5 separate regions of the Homo sapiens genome follow, and regions 2, 3, 4 and 5 are each linked to region 1. Evidence: promoter capture Hi-C in 16 types of primary human blood cells and fetal thymus (Javierre and others, 2016). All regions are on one chromosome and are shown on one strand. Each heading gives the region's core, a stretch centred on a gene start or on the middle of the fragment in contact. The rest is flanking DNA. Distances are from core to core; before and after follow the strand shown. Region 1 holds the start of AEBP1 (AE binding protein 1). Region 2 overlaps NUDCD3 (NudC domain containing 3). Region 3 overlaps NUDCD3 (NudC domain containing 3). Region 4 overlaps NUDCD3 (NudC domain containing 3). Region 5 has its middle 40 kb from the start of CAMK2B.

Evidence for each region. Contacts are between HindIII fragments. The CHiCAGO score rates a contact against its expected background, and 5 or more counts as called.
Region 2: a fragment that was not itself captured here is called in contact with the fragment with the promoter of AEBP1 in region 1 in 1 of 17 cell types (M1 macrophages); the score reaches 6.4 in M1 macrophages.
Region 3: a contact is called between a fragment that was not itself captured here and the fragment with the promoter of AEBP1 in region 1, in 2 of 17 cell types (M1 macrophages and M2 macrophages). The highest score is 7.4, in M1 macrophages.
Region 4: a contact is called between a fragment that was not itself captured here and the fragment with the promoter of AEBP1 in region 1, in 1 of 17 cell types (M1 macrophages). The highest score is 5.5, in M1 macrophages.
Region 5: a contact is called between a fragment that was not itself captured here and the fragment with the promoter of AEBP1 in region 1, in 1 of 17 cell types (M1 macrophages). The highest score is 7.1, in M1 macrophages.

The regions. Positions count from the first base shown.
Region 1 is chr7:44,102,827-44,105,695 of GRCh38, forward strand. AEBP1 (AE binding protein 1) reads left to right here and starts at 1,519. Exons shown (of 21, transcript NM_001129.5): 1 at 1,519-2,092. The coding sequence starts at 1,840. The HindIII fragment of the contact is 6,426 bases long and covers 1-2,869 here.
Region 2 is chr7:44,426,813-44,429,681 of GRCh38, forward strand. It overlaps NUDCD3 (NudC domain containing 3), which reads right to left. Exons shown (of 6, transcript NM_015332.4): 3 at 759-891. Among named protein-coding and RNA genes, the nearest start is that of NUDCD3, 62 kb to the right of the region's middle. The HindIII fragment of the contact is 3,476 bases long and covers 1-2,869 here.
Region 3 is chr7:44,403,901-44,406,769 of GRCh38, forward strand. NUDCD3 (NudC domain containing 3) reads right to left here. Exons shown (of 6, transcript NM_015332.4): 4 at 540-683. Among named protein-coding and RNA genes, the nearest start is that of CAMK2B, 80 kb to the left of the region's middle. The HindIII fragment of the contact is 2,679 bases long and covers 18-2,696 here.
Region 4 is chr7:44,382,856-44,385,724 of GRCh38, forward strand. It overlaps NUDCD3 (NudC domain containing 3), which reads right to left. Exons shown (of 6, transcript NM_015332.4): 6 at 1-2,869. Among named protein-coding and RNA genes, the nearest start is that of CAMK2B, 59 kb to the left of the region's middle. The HindIII fragment of the contact is 1,804 bases long and covers 454-2,257 here.
Region 5 is chr7:44,363,898-44,366,766 of GRCh38, forward strand. No RefSeq gene overlaps it. Among named protein-coding and RNA genes, the nearest start is that of CAMK2B, 40 kb to the left of the region's middle. The HindIII fragment of the contact is 472 bases long and covers 1,253-1,724 here.

The DNA.
Region 1 (2,869 bases), core at 269-2,768:
GAGGCTACCTGCCGAGATGTGGTGCCTGGGAGGTAGAGCCAGAACCTGACACAGTCCCACTGCTTTTTCAAGGAGATGCAGTGAGAAAGCAAAGGCAGGGTCTTGGCAGGACCAGGTGTGAGAGGAGGCAAGGCCTCCTTGTGGTCCTGCTCCCAGGGGGTGGCATGTATCCCAGGCCCAGCAGCCTCCACTGTGGCCTCCCCGGCTGCTGCCTGCTCCAACTCACTCGGGGCTGCTCTGGGGACCCAGGTGCTTCCTGACCCACTTTTCCTCTTTCCTTTTGACCCCAGGTCCAAACTCTGCCCTGTCAATCATCCCAGGGGCTCCTAGGCTTCCCTACCTGACTACTTCACTGGGGCCAAACCCCGCAGACAATCGTGGCTTAGGGCTGTCTGCCTCTGCACTTGGCCCATGGACTACCTGTGAGCTTTCTCTTGTGTCCTCATTCCTTTAAGGGGGAATGTCCTCGGAGCTCTGTCCTTAGCTCCCCATTCCTCCAGTATGAGACAGGGACTAGGCTTGAGTCACGGGGGACTGTGCTGTGTCACGCCCTGCCATACTAATGGGACCACTCTGCCTGTTGATGGCCGTTGTAGGGCAGCCAACATTTGCCCTGGAGAAGCCTTATGGCAAACACCAGGCACCAAGGTGCACATCCCTGATGGATCCTGGGATCAGTTGACACTCAATCCACCTGCCTTCTGGGTCCTCTGGGCCCTCTGGGTCCATGTGGCAGCTGGAGGTATGGTAGACACTTTTTAAAAAATGAGTTCTGGTAAGAAGAAGGTGATAAATGGCTATTTGTCCACGTTGGGACCCGGAGGGGAGGGATGGCATGCCCTTACATGGGACTCCTACCCCCAGCGGGGCAGCTGGCCACTCTGAGGGCAGTTTTGCACCTGCCTCCTGGCTGGAAAGTGAGTTCCCACTGTGCTGTCCCTCCCTGGGGCCCAGCACGGGGCCCGGCCCCACACCGACCTGAAGAGGTTGGTAGGATGACTGAATGAATTGACGCTGGGATGCAGCAGGGCCCATGGGCAGAGGCTCCAGAGCCTGGGAAGGATGGGGTGGCCTTTCTGTGGCCCTCCGAATTGAGAGAGGTCTCAGAGGCCTGACACCACGGCTTTCCGTCCAGGGTTCCTGGTCACCCGCGGAGGGCTCAGAGCCCCGGTGGACTCGGGGTCCCGCCTTAAGGGGGGTGCCTAGGGCAGAAGGAGGAGGGATGTCGGCCCCCTCAGACCCGCACCCCAGGCCCTCCCCACCACCTTTCCTTCCCTCAGGCCCTCTGTCTTCCCAGTCGCCCCGCCCCCTGCCCCTCTGTCCTAGGCGCAAGTCTCCGGGCTTGGGACGCTCGCCGCCAGCGCCCGCCCGCCTGCCCCGCCCCTAGCCCCCCGCCCCCCGCCCCCCGCCCCCCCGCAGCCCCTCCGTCCACTCTCGGCTCCTCCTTCTCTTCCTCCTCCTCCTCCCCGGGGGTGGGGAGCCGGCTCCGGAAGCCCCGGCGCCCCCGCCCCGGGCCCCGCCAGCGCTTTGGAGACGGCTATCCGCGCGGGAGTGCGCCACGCGGGGCCGGAGCGCCTATTAGCCGCCAGGACCTCGGAGCGCCCCGACCACCCCTGAGCCCCTCTGGCTTCGGAGCCCCCCAGCACCCCTTCCCGGGTCCCCTCGCCCACCCTAATCCACTCTCCCTCCCTTTCCCGGATTCCCTCGCTCACCCCATCCTCTCTCCCGCCCCTTCCTGGATTCCCTCACCCGTCTCGATCCCCTCTCCGCCCTTTCCCAGAGACCCAGAGCCCCTGACCCCCCGCGCCCTCCCCGGAGCCCCCCGCGCGTGCCGCGGCCATGGCGGCCGTGCGCGGGGCGCCCCTGCTCAGCTGCCTCCTGGCGTTGCTGGCCCTGTGCCCTGGAGGGCGCCCGCAGACGGTGCTGACCGACGACGAGATCGAGGAGTTCCTCGAGGGCTTCCTGTCAGAGCTAGAACCTGAGCCCCGGGAGGACGACGTGGAGGCCCCGCCGCCTCCCGAGCCCACCCCGCGGGTCCGAAAAGCCCAGGCGGGGGGCAAGCCAGGGAAGCGGCCAGGGACGGCCGCAGAAGGTAAGAGCCCAGGGCAGGGCGGGGGTGTGGGGGGCTGGCATCTCAGGTGGGAACAGGGGGATTCGGTAGGGTCTGGCCACTCCCCAGTCTGCTAGGGGAGGAATGGCTGGCTTACTAATGCGCACGCGAGCCCAGATGCCTGGAGGGACCCTGTGCTAGGCCGAGGTCAGCGCTGGCGTGGAGGCACATCCAGCACCCGGGCGGCAGGGCCGCTTTTGGGGGCCGGTGGCTCTAGGGTTGGTGCTGTGGTTGTACGGGTCGCTTATCCCCATTCCTCCAGTACGCGACAGGTACTAGGCTTGAGCCACAGGGGACTGTGCTGTGTCACCCCCTGCCATACTAATGGGACCACTCTCCCTGTTGGTGGCACAGCTTCACGTCGTCCCTCCCTCCTGCCTTTGCCCTCCTACTCCAGGAGGTCTCACGTAGGTGAGAGAGTTTCAGGTGGTGGTGAGCACAGGGCTTCAGGTGGTGGTGAGCAATGGGTGGTCCTACATTAGTACAGGAAATTAGATGAGGTGATGCATCACTGAAGCATTTAACCCACGGCCTCTTGCATAATCAGTTGTCAGTAAATCTTAGCTGTTTTCATCGTGGCCCTCTGGAAGGTGGCAGAGGGTCTTGTGATCCCTGTCTCCCAGGAGATTCCAAGGCACCATCCAACATTCCTGATGTCAGCAGCCCCTCCCCTGCCACCCCAGCTCTAGATCTTTCCTGGCTGCTTCCCACACCCTGGGCTGCCTGTGCCCCTCCTGCCTCTGGCTCTCCTTCCAGGCT
Region 2 (2,869 bases), core at 128-2,627, 320 kb after region 1:
AAAATAGCAAGGGAAGCAAGTGGGGACGCTGGGATGAGGTGGGCCTGTCCCTCCCTCCATCCCTCCTGTGCAGCCATGTTGTTGCCCTGAGAGAACTGCAGAGTCTTAGAGCTCTCTCCTGTGATTAAAGGTTGTGGAGAATTAAATCATAAACCTTTCATCTCTGTGATGCATGGCTCATCACCATACACGGGGAGGTGCTACCCACTGTGTCATTTTGTCTAATTTGAGTTTATTAGACCCTGGGCTGGCAAAGCCCAGGAAACTCACATGACAGATGCTATGTGAATGTATGTTAGCTATCACTGTGCGTTTAGTAGACTGGACTTTTCTTAGGGAAACTGAAGGCAGATTTAATCTTTAGGAAAAAAGAGAATTCACCAAGGTAATAATGTTTGAGTATTCCCTTGAAAACTGAGAAGCTGGCCATCTACAATAGGAACCCCAGGAGAGTCTATGGCTGTATTTATAAAAGAGGTGAAGACATCAGATGTGTGGGCTTCTCTCTCAGGAAGCAGTGTGAACAGGGTTCACCATCCCCAAAGGGAGGTTTCTGCAGAAGAGCTGGGAGAACCTCACAAACAGAATAAGGGGAGCAAGGATGGTGTGCTCAGCTCATTCCGAGGGCAGGAGAAGGAACACACCTCACATCCTAAAGCCGATCTCAACACTCCCTCAAGGATGCTGGTGGGTCTTCCCTGCAACAGCTTTGACTGGCTTGGGTGAAGCCGCCCACCCCTACCCGCCAAGGCCATTACCTGCTTTCCCTTCACCACGTGCTTGGGTACTGGCACCCTGACCTCCAGGTCAGTATAGTCCTGTGACCAGGTGTAGTTCTCTCGGACAGCACCATTGTAACTGTCGGGATTTTTCTGGAACTGCTCCTGAATCCTGAGAAAGAATAAAAAATGTGATCCCAGTCAGCCATGCCTGAGCAGAGGACCCCATGGGCAGCCTAGCCCATGCCACTCCTACATCCTGGAGACGTGACCAACTCAAGTTTCATCTCAAGTTCACTGGCTCTGGCATCTGCAAACTCCTCTTCTTTTCAGGTGATTTCCTTTCTGACCCTCCTACATGGTACCCATGGAAATCACAGGACAAGGGCAAAGCTACAGAAAAGAAACCCCAGTGCAGCATCCTACAGTTTAGGAAAAGTGTCTGTGACCACAGTCAAACCATAGCTGGTACTGCCAGCCTTCACAGTACTGAGATCCAGGCCTGTTAATTAACCAGAGGGCTCTTATTAATAAAATCCTTAGGCTCATGAGTCCTTGGTTTCTTATAAACTGCTTGGCAGGGTCAATCTTTAAAAAAAAAAAAAAAAAAAAAAAAAAAGAGGCCAGGCGTGGTGACTCACACCTGTAATCCCAGCACTTTGGGAGGCCAAGGGCGGGTGAATCACCTGAGGTATGGAGTTTGAAACCAACCTGGCTAACATGGTGAAACCCTGTCTCTACTAAAAATACAAAAATTAGCTGAGCATGGGAGCACATGCCTGTAATCCCAGCTACTTGGGAGGCTTGGGCAGGAGAATCGCTTGAACCTGGGAGGCGGAGGTTGCAGGTTGCAGTGAGCCAAGATCACACCATTGCACTCCAGCCTGGGCAACAAGAGCAAAACTCTGCTCAAAAAAAAAAAAGGCAAAACCACTTCATCCTGCAGCTGCTAAACTTCAATCCTAATCCAACCCCTAGCCTCTATTTTTTCATAGTAAATAAATCACAGCTAAAAGGACTGCATTAAAATTGTATGCATCATTGTTAAGACATAAGCAGTATGTTTAATGAGACAGCCTAAAAAACTCAATCAAGCAAATCTTATTGTATAGGCCTGTTATAAACACAGCACTAAATACAGATAGGCCTACCAAGAAGAAGCTGATGTTAAAAATAAAATATAATATTTTCCATAAAATGTAACAATGCTAATAATATAAACATTATGTAAGTTTAGACTCACAAGTCCATTATAGTGAACTGAAGATCTAAATTACAGACAAAAGCCTAGTCATGGAGAAGGCAGCAGCTATGAACACAGAACATTCCAACAGTAGGTGCATCTCAGTCAACTTCTCCAGGGCCTGCTCAGAGATTAGCAGACAAAACCTGGCAGGGAGACGGCCCCATGGGCTTGTAAACAATGTGTGCACTATGATCTGGTTCACACAGGAAAACACAAAACTACATGTATCTACATCTATATAGATGCACATACAAGACAAGGATTGGGAAGGGGTGGTTCAAGAGGGCAGGCTTTCTCTGGCCAGAGTTCTAAGACAAGAACATATTTACCTACTGTGGGTATGCCCTGCACACTGTCTATGCATGAAGCTGGGCCTCCACCACGGCCTGAGTCCTCTGGGCTGGGCAATAGTGGCTGTTAAGAACTGAATTGGGTCCCCTAAAACGCTATGTTGGAATCTTAATCCCCAGGACCTCAGAATGTGACCTTAATAAAAACAGGGTCTTTACACAGGTGATGCAGTTACAACAAGGTCATTAGGGTGGGCCCTAATCCACTATGACTGATGTCCTTAAAAGGGGGACTTTGGAGAGATGACGTGAAGGCCATGTGGAGACAATGGGGTGATGTGCCTATAGGCCAAAAAACGTCAAGGACCGCAGGCCACCACCTAAAGCTGGAAGAGGAGAGGGAAGATCTTCCCCTAAGACCTTCAGAGGGAACATGGCCCTGCTGACACCTTGATCTCAGACTTCCCCTCTAGGAACTGTGAAGAATCAACATTTTTCGTTTAAGCCGGCCATTTTGTGGTACGTTATTGTGGTAGCCTGAGCAAACACAGTGGCTAAGGAAACTAATTTCAATCAGAGGTGATATTCAAAATTCAGCACTGAATATTGGCAGG
Region 3 (2,869 bases), core at 107-2,606, 300 kb after region 1:
CCACTGACAAGGTTCAAAGCTTTCACAGGGGAGAAGGAGCTGAGCCACCAACAGATCTGGCCCAGGCGTGCAGCCCAATTTGTGAGCGAGTCTGCTAACTGGTAACATGTGAGCTGTTCATTTGGAGTCACACCTTAATCTCACTGTCCTGAACTCTTAGCTATGCCTAACCAGCAGCTGGCTAAGGACAGCCAGTTGGTCAATGAGCCTGATTCTCTGAATTTATTAACTCTGTACCCTCCAGAGTAGCATCTGTAAAAATTCAACCTAGCTTTTCATTTTCAATTTACTTGTTTTTGCCTTAGATGTAAGAACAGTGGAGCTCTTGGGAATGACCAAGACCTCAAAGGGCCAAAGCTCAAGTGCCCACAGAGACGATCTCTGAGCAGTATGGAAAATGCTCAGGAAAACCCATCTGCCCCAGCAGCTGAAATTAACAACCTCACTGCTTAAGTGTAAATAGGCTTGTTGGTCAAAAGGGGCATCACTGCAGGTTTGAAGTCCACCTGGGAGCCCTACACACAGGTGCCCAAACTTACCAAAACGCACTTCCCGGGCTCGAGACTCCAGAGAGAACTCTCAGTGTTGATCTTGTGGGTGAGCTTCCCTTCCATGAGGACGCGCTCCCCATTTTCCTCCAGCATGGCCACACGAATGGAGCTGCTGCTAAGGGCCACTGAGACCTGGGGACACAGCAGAAGAAAATCATCTCTCCTATCAGGGTGACCACTGGTGTGCTGTACGGTGGGAGTGGTGATGGTTTCCAAGGTACCTGACTGCACACTACAGCGCTGTCATCAGGCTCACCAGGCATCTCAGTGAAGAAAACCATACCAGCCTAATTTATACCTAGAGCAACCTGAAGATGTCAGCTCATTTAGTAAATCCACCAGAAAATCTTTCTCAGCATAACTGGTAACGTAAAATGCTGTGGTGGAAGCTGCTGTGACCCAATCTTCTTCTCCCTTCTCCAGTTAACGGAGACCAATTGTCACAGCAAAAAGTGAGCAGAGGAGACAAGTGGTATTTCTTCCTTGCCTCCCCTTGTGGCTACCTGGGAGACGCAGGAGCCCAGCCCTGGACCACAGCAACCAAGAAAGCTGAGGGGGCTGCACACCCTGAATTGCTCACCCCAGGACTGCTGTACAAGAGACAAGCACCACCTCTTCCTTCCATGAGCCACTGCACTGCCTGGTTGACTATAGCCTGGTCTTCATCCAAGAGTATGAGACCAACTCCTTTGGTTTTGGAAGGCAGCTATGCTCACCAATATACCACCAACACTCGCACATGGTTTTGCATTTTGTCTTGGTTCTTTACAAAACCAAGCCTCTAAAAGCCTCAGCTCACCCTCCTCCCTCTGAGCCTGTCCTAGGCAGAGACTGGCCCCATGGCCTTCCCCACCGCCCTAGGAACACCTATCCCTGCCCCACCACTTGTCCGTCTCCAGAACTGGACTGGCAGCTGTGGGAGTAGGGTTCCTTTTACTTCATATCATGTATTCCAGCCAGCAGTCTCCAAAGCAGGGTATGCATACCCCAGGAGGTTCACAGGTCAGTAATTAGAAGAGGAAATAAAACAGAACTTCCATTTACATTTTGTATCTGTATAATGTATGCATTAAGAAGACACTGGGATCAAGTACTTAAAACTTTTTTCTAATAGGTATGTGGAATAAAAATAATTTGGAAGCTACTCTCCATGTCATTTGGTAGATGGCTCATTAAACGCTTATAAAATGATTGGAAAAAAAGACAACCCAAACTGATAGATTTTCCAAACTGGAGTTTAGTATTTCCAATGAAATACAATACCATAACCTAACTGTAGTTTAAATATTCGTAAATAAAAAATGGAAATGGGAGAAATGATGTGCAGGAGTCACCGCTGTCAGTTTTTCTTCTTTTTCTTTAAGAGACACGGCCTCACTGCATTGCCCAGGCTGGAGTGCAGTGGCGTGATCCCAGCTCACTGCTGCATCAAACTCCTGGGCTGAAGCAATCCCTCCACCTCAGCCTCCCGAGTAACTGGGACTACAGGTACGTGCCACCATGCCTGGCTAATTTTATTTTTATTTTTTGTAGAGACAGGGGTCTTGCTGTTGCCCAGGCTGGTCTCGAACTCTTGGCCCCAAGTGATCCTACTGCCTCAGCCTCCCAAAGTGCTGGGATGACACATGTGAGCCACCACATCCAGCCCATCAGATAGTTACTAAATGAAAGATAGTTCCTGAGCCATGCAGTGAGGGGAGAAGGTGGCAGAAGGCTGCCCACTGGGGGACACAGCGAAGATATTCTGCTAACCACAGGCGGCTCTGCCAGGTTCACATGCAGACTCCAAGGAAGCATCCTCTCATGAGATCGCAGTTCCACTTGCATGACCTTTCATAGGGGAATTTACCACGGAAAAGGGTATTTACTTGGCTAGTCCTATTGAACAATAGGCAACTGAGCTTCACTCCCTACCTTCTAACACCATGAGGAACGTGAGCAAATGGAACAACAGATCCACTCACTCCTGAAATGATCCAGACACATGTTGGGCCAAATCATGTCTAACCATGAACTTGTGTGCAATGGAAACACGACACAGAGGGCCCAAGGCTCCTCAGCCTGCCTTCACAAGAACAAGCTCACTTAACAAATATAATTCTCCCACCCAGCTCTATATAACATAATAATTTCCAAATTTGGGGAAGCTTCTCACACTGCCTACCCAGGGGAATGAACCAAATCATCAAGGGAGAAAACCAGACAAGAAATGCTTCCAGAGGTCCCAGGTGAAGATGTCACACTGGGAACAGACAGCCATCTCTCTGACCTCTTGTGAACTGCAGGCATAATAGGCATGAAGAGAAAAACCCCAGACA
Region 4 (2,869 bases), core at 106-2,605, 280 kb after region 1:
GCCTCTTGGACACATTTCCACACAAAACACTTCTCAACTGTTCTCCCTCCTGCACTCTTCAGGGGCAAATACGCCTCTCCTTTCTGGCGGGTTATTTCTGGCCCTGGGAGTATGCTAGGCAATTCTAAGGATTGCCTTTGAAACAGTCTTTATTCAGCCAAGTACTTCTCACACCCCTAGGTCCTGTCCCCAGGGGTGAGCAGGGTCAGAGGAGGCTGGAGATGGGGTGGGCACAGAGAAGGAGAGTCAAAGATCTGACTGAGGAAGAAGCAGGTGGCCAGCCACCTGGGAGACTTCTGTGTCAGACACGGCGTTATGTCCTGGAGGAAGCCCATTGCGAGGGCTCAGCAAAGTTAACAGCAGGTATGCACCTGGAGACCAAGGAGGGCCTTGGAGCCTGGTGGGCAAAGGTGGCCCTTCAGTGGAATCATTCCCAACTCTGCACTCACCCTAAGCTTTCCAGTAACTACAGAATTCCAGAACCTGTTTGAAAGGATGTAAGATCTATAGCTACATTCTTTTTCTCCCCACTGGTCAAAATCTTACAGGATTTCTAAAGCTGTATTGAGATCTTGCCCAGTGCATTCAGACCAGATGGGAAACAACCCCTAAGAATTCCCCATGCTGGTGTTTGCTGTGTACGTTGGCCTGGGACCTCAAGGCTAGAATGCAACAATAATGACCATGCACAGACAGAACTGTCTCAGCAGCAAATGTCACACGCAGACCCAGAACTGCTTAAATACCAATTTATTGCAAACCAACACCAAGGAGCTGGAATAGCTTTGCAGGCTGGACACCTCACTCTCCTCGGGCCCTGGACAAGGGAAATGAGTCACCCCGCTTTCCTCGGACCTCAGCTGGTGGGACTTAGTGGCTGGCCAAACTGCGGCTGTTGTGTCTAAAAAGAGAAAACAGGCAGGGTGTGCCAGCTCTGGAGACTGGGCCAGTCCAGGGTGGTGGCTCAGGGCAGAGAATCACCCACCAGACAGCGTGGCTCAACGGGAGCAAGGCGCGCAGGGACAGGCTCCACAACCACACCAAGCACCGCAGTGTGGCACCGGGACCAGATGCAAGTGGCTGTTCCTGCCATGGGGCCAATACCCAATACTATCCCTCAGTCATTCTTCCTAGATATTGGTTTGCTGTTTATTAAAGCAGGGCAGGGAGTGGGGAGAAATGCAACACAGAATATAAAATCAGGCAAAACAAACACTAGTCACCATGGAAGTGAATGACTCTCAAAGTCTCCCAAATAACAAGGTGTAGGGCATCTCACACCACTGCATCACTTCTGGAAGACTACCCACAGGGTGGGGGCTGCAATGGGGGCCAACTCGGGAACTATAGAGAAGAGAGGAGACACACACCACAAGACCTCCTTTCATTAGGCAGGAAAGCTCTTGTGGGACAGTGGTGTGCAAATCCTAGGACCTCAATGGGAAGAACTCCAGGAAAAAAAATGACAAGTCTTTCTCAGGACCCCTCATAGATGACAAGAATTCTGCTCCCCAGGGTCGAGATCTCTTTAGAGGGGCTTCACCAGCTCAGTGGCAAATATCAGACAACAAGACTCTCACATTCCAAAGGGGGTATCTAGGGCCTTTTGCTCTCCTGTGATGATCGGAGCAACATGTTTGGACCCACAGAAGACTTCCCAGGAATGCTTTCTTACAAGGGGTGTCAGCCACCACTGTAAACCAGAAACAAACCACAAACTTACTCTCCAAGAGAGCCCCCACAACCCAAGTATCCATAGAGAGTGTGCAGGAGCGGGGACCTTCCCCTGACAATAGGCCCTCTTAGCATCTGCGGGCCTTGATTCTTGCTGGCCGTGCATGGTGCCAGGGTGCACTGCCCTGCTGTGTGGCTTATCCATGCTCTGAGCTTGACAGACAGGCAAATGGACAGTGCCGGTGGCAGCTGAACCATACTCCCGGCGATGGGCACCCAGAGCCCCTGTGAGTACTTGGAACACAGGCCTGAGGACCTGTCTCATAATCTCGTCTTTGCACCTTGGCTGGAGTCAGTCAGCAGCCATGGCTCAGGGCATAGGCTTGGGGGTCCTGAGGCAGTGACCAGTCCCTGGAGAACAGGTAAGATTGGGCCATAAGTTCCAAGGAGCACAGTCTGGCACCTGGCACAGAGGATGGGAAGAGGGGAGTCTTCACTCTCTTCTGGTTCAGTTGTGGTGGGACAGTGTGCCTTCACGCCCCATGCAGAAATTCCTCCTCTCCCAGAAGCCCTTCAAGGTCAAAGCTTCTCAGGACTTGTGGCTGTCGAGCTCTGCTGAGCTGATGGACATGCTGTGGTCTCCTCCTGAGGGCACCAGCTCTCCACTCCTGCCCACACTTTGACACCGTGCACCCAAAGAGGACGTCTTATGGGGAGCCAAGCACAGCATGCCATGCGTGGTGGCCGGGCTTGGTTCACTTCAACAAGAACCAAAGCAAGGTCGCCACAGTCAGAGAACAGAATCCCCGCTGCATCTGGACCTGAGCCCAGAACCTAGGCTTTCTCCGAACAACTAGAACGTGCAAACAGGGCTCCAGTCTCCACTGCTCTGACCATGAGGCTGAGGCAGGCAAAGCACATTTATAAGGGGATGAGCAAGAAGACCACGTGAATGCTCTCAAAAGAGGTCAAGGGGCAAGGAGTTTCCCAGAGCAGCCTCAGGCACAGCCATTCCTTGCTTGCCCTCATGCAAGCACAGAGCTTCACACACTTCAATGACTTCAGCTTCGCCTGAGAGTCCAGCAACAACTCCACATCCCAACCAGAAGACATGCAAGCAGAATAGCGTCAAAACAACAGCAAGCAGAGAGCAGGGGAGGAAAGACATGCTGCCTGCAGTGGCTGGTTGCTGTGG
Region 5 (2,869 bases), core at 239-2,738, 260 kb after region 1:
GTGGGTGGATCACGAAGTCAAGAGATCAAGACCATCCTTGCCAACATGGTGAAACCCTGTCTCTACTAAAAATACAAAAATTAGCTGGAACACGCCTGTAGTCCCAGCTATTTGGGAGGCTGAGGCAAGAGAATTGCTTGAACCCGAGAGGTGGAGGCTGCAGTGAGCCGAGATCGCGCCACTGCACTCCAGCCTGGCGACAGAACGAGACTCCATCTCAAAACAAAACAAAACAAAAACAAATAAACAAAAAAACAACTCTCAGCACACTAGGAAGAGAGATTAATTTCCTCAGTGTCACAAAGAGCATCTATCAAAAACCTACTATAAGCATTATACCTAATGGGGACAGACTGAGTGCTTTCCCTCTAAGTTCTGGAACAAGTGAAGGGAATCTGCTCTGACCACTCTTTTTCAACATAGTAATGGAAGTTCTAGCCACTGCAATCAGAAAATAAAAATATATAAACAGTGTCAAGAGTAGAAAGGAAAACATAAAACTGTGCTATTTGCAGGTGACATGATTAACTACATAGAAAATAAAATCCTGAGGAACCTAAAAAAAAAAAATTACTAGAGCTAATGAGTTTAGTAAGGTCACAGGATACAAAATCAACACACAAGTCTATTTCACTTATATAAAGTGACAATGAACAAGAGGAAATATATATTTAAAACATATAAACATATACAATTGACCCAAAGAACATGAAATACTTAGGTATAAATCTAACAAAACCTGTACTGAATCTATGTAATAAAATTATATTATAGAATGCTGATGAACCAAATCAAAAAAGATCTAATACACCATGGTTGTAGATTGGAAGACTCAATATAGTACAGATGAAAATTCTTCCTAATTGATCTACAGGTTTAATGCAATTCTTTTTTTTTTTTTTTTTTTTTTTGAGATAGGGTCTTGCTCTGTCACCCCCAGGCTGGAGTGCAGTGGCACGACCATGGCTCACTGCGACCTCGACCTTCTGGGCTCAAGTAATCCTCCCACCTCAGCCTCCTGAGTAGCTGGGACTACAGGCTCTTGCCACTATGCCCGGCTAATTTTTTGTATTTTTTTGTAGAGACAAGGTTTTACCATGTTGCCCAGGATGGTCTCAGACTCCTGGCCACAAACAATCCTCCTGCCTCAGCCTTCCAAAGTGCTGTGATTACAGCCGTGAGCCACCATGCCTAGCTGGTTTAATGCAATTCTTACCCAAATCTCAGCAAGATTTTTTTGTAGACATAGACAAGCTTATTTTAAAATTTATATGGAAAGGGAAAGACACTAGAATAGCCAAAACGTATGAAAAAGAAGAAAATTCATGATGTCAGGGCTTACCATATAGCGACGGTAATAAAGACAGTGTGGTATTGGTAGAGGAGCAGACACATAGATTAATGAAATAGAACAGAGATCCCAGAAATAGACCTACACAAACATTTGATTAATAATTAAATAAATAATAAAATAATATTTGATGAAGGAGCAAAAGTGGTTTAGAGGAGAAATGACAGCCTTTTCAACAAATGCTCCTGGAACAACTGGACATTCATAAGCCAAATAAATAAATAAATAAATAAACCTCACACCTTATACAAAAAATTAACTCAAAATGGATCATAGACTTAATGTAAAACATAAGCTATAAAACTTCTAGAAAAATAGGAGGAAAACTGTGAGATCTAGGACTAATCAAAGGTATTTTTAGACTTGACACCAAAGCTTGATGAATAAAAAGAAAATTTGATATACTGGACCTCACCAACATTAAAAGCTATTGCTCTGAAAAGACTATGTTAAAAGGATGAACAAACTAATTATAGACCAGGAGAAAATATTTGTAAATCACATATCCAGCAAAGGACTTTTATCTAAAATATATAAAGAATGCTCAAAACTTGATATTTAATGGCCAAAAGACTTGACACAACATTTCATCAAGGAAAATATACATATGGCAAAAAGCACATGACAAGATGCTCAGCATCGTTAGCCATTGGTAAAATGCAAATTAAATCACACAATAAGATATCACCGCACACCTGTTAGAACAGTCAAAATAAAAAATACTGACAGTACCTATAATAGTTTCATAGTGTTACTGTAGTAAATCACCACAAATTTCGTGGCTTAAAACACCACAGATGTATTATCTTACAGTTCTGGAGGTCAGAAGTCCAAAATGAGTTTAATGAGGCTTGTGGCTATCATCCTTCAAAGCCAGCAATGGCTGCTTGGTTGAGTCTTTTTCACTTCACATCACTCTTTTGCCTCCTTCTTCCACATTTAAAGGATTATTGTGATTATATTGGGTCTACCTAGATAATCCAGAATAATATTTTCTTAAGGTCAACTAATTAGCACTCTTAATTCCATCTGCAACCAAAATTCTCCCTTGCATAACTTATTTCATAGGTCTGGAGGATTAGGATGTGGACTTTTGTGGGAGCCATTTTTCTGCCTATCACAATACCAAATGTGAGCAAGGATGCAGAGAAACTGGAGCTCACATATTGCTGGTTGGAATGTAAAATGGCAGAGGCACTCTGAAAAAGTTTGACAATTTTCTATAAAGTTAAACATATACTTAAACATATGACCCAGTAATTGCACTCCTGGGTATTTATCCTAAAGAAATGAAATTTTATGTTCAATTTTAAAACTCTATATATGAATATTCACAGCAGTTTTATTTGTAATAGACAAAAATTGGAAACTACTCAAATGTCCTTCAATGGGTAGGCCATTAAACAAATTGTGGTTCATCCATGTACTATGGCATATTATTCAAAAATTAAAAGAAACTATGATATACACAGCATCTTGAATGGACCTCAAGGAAATTATGGTGAATGAAAAAGCCAA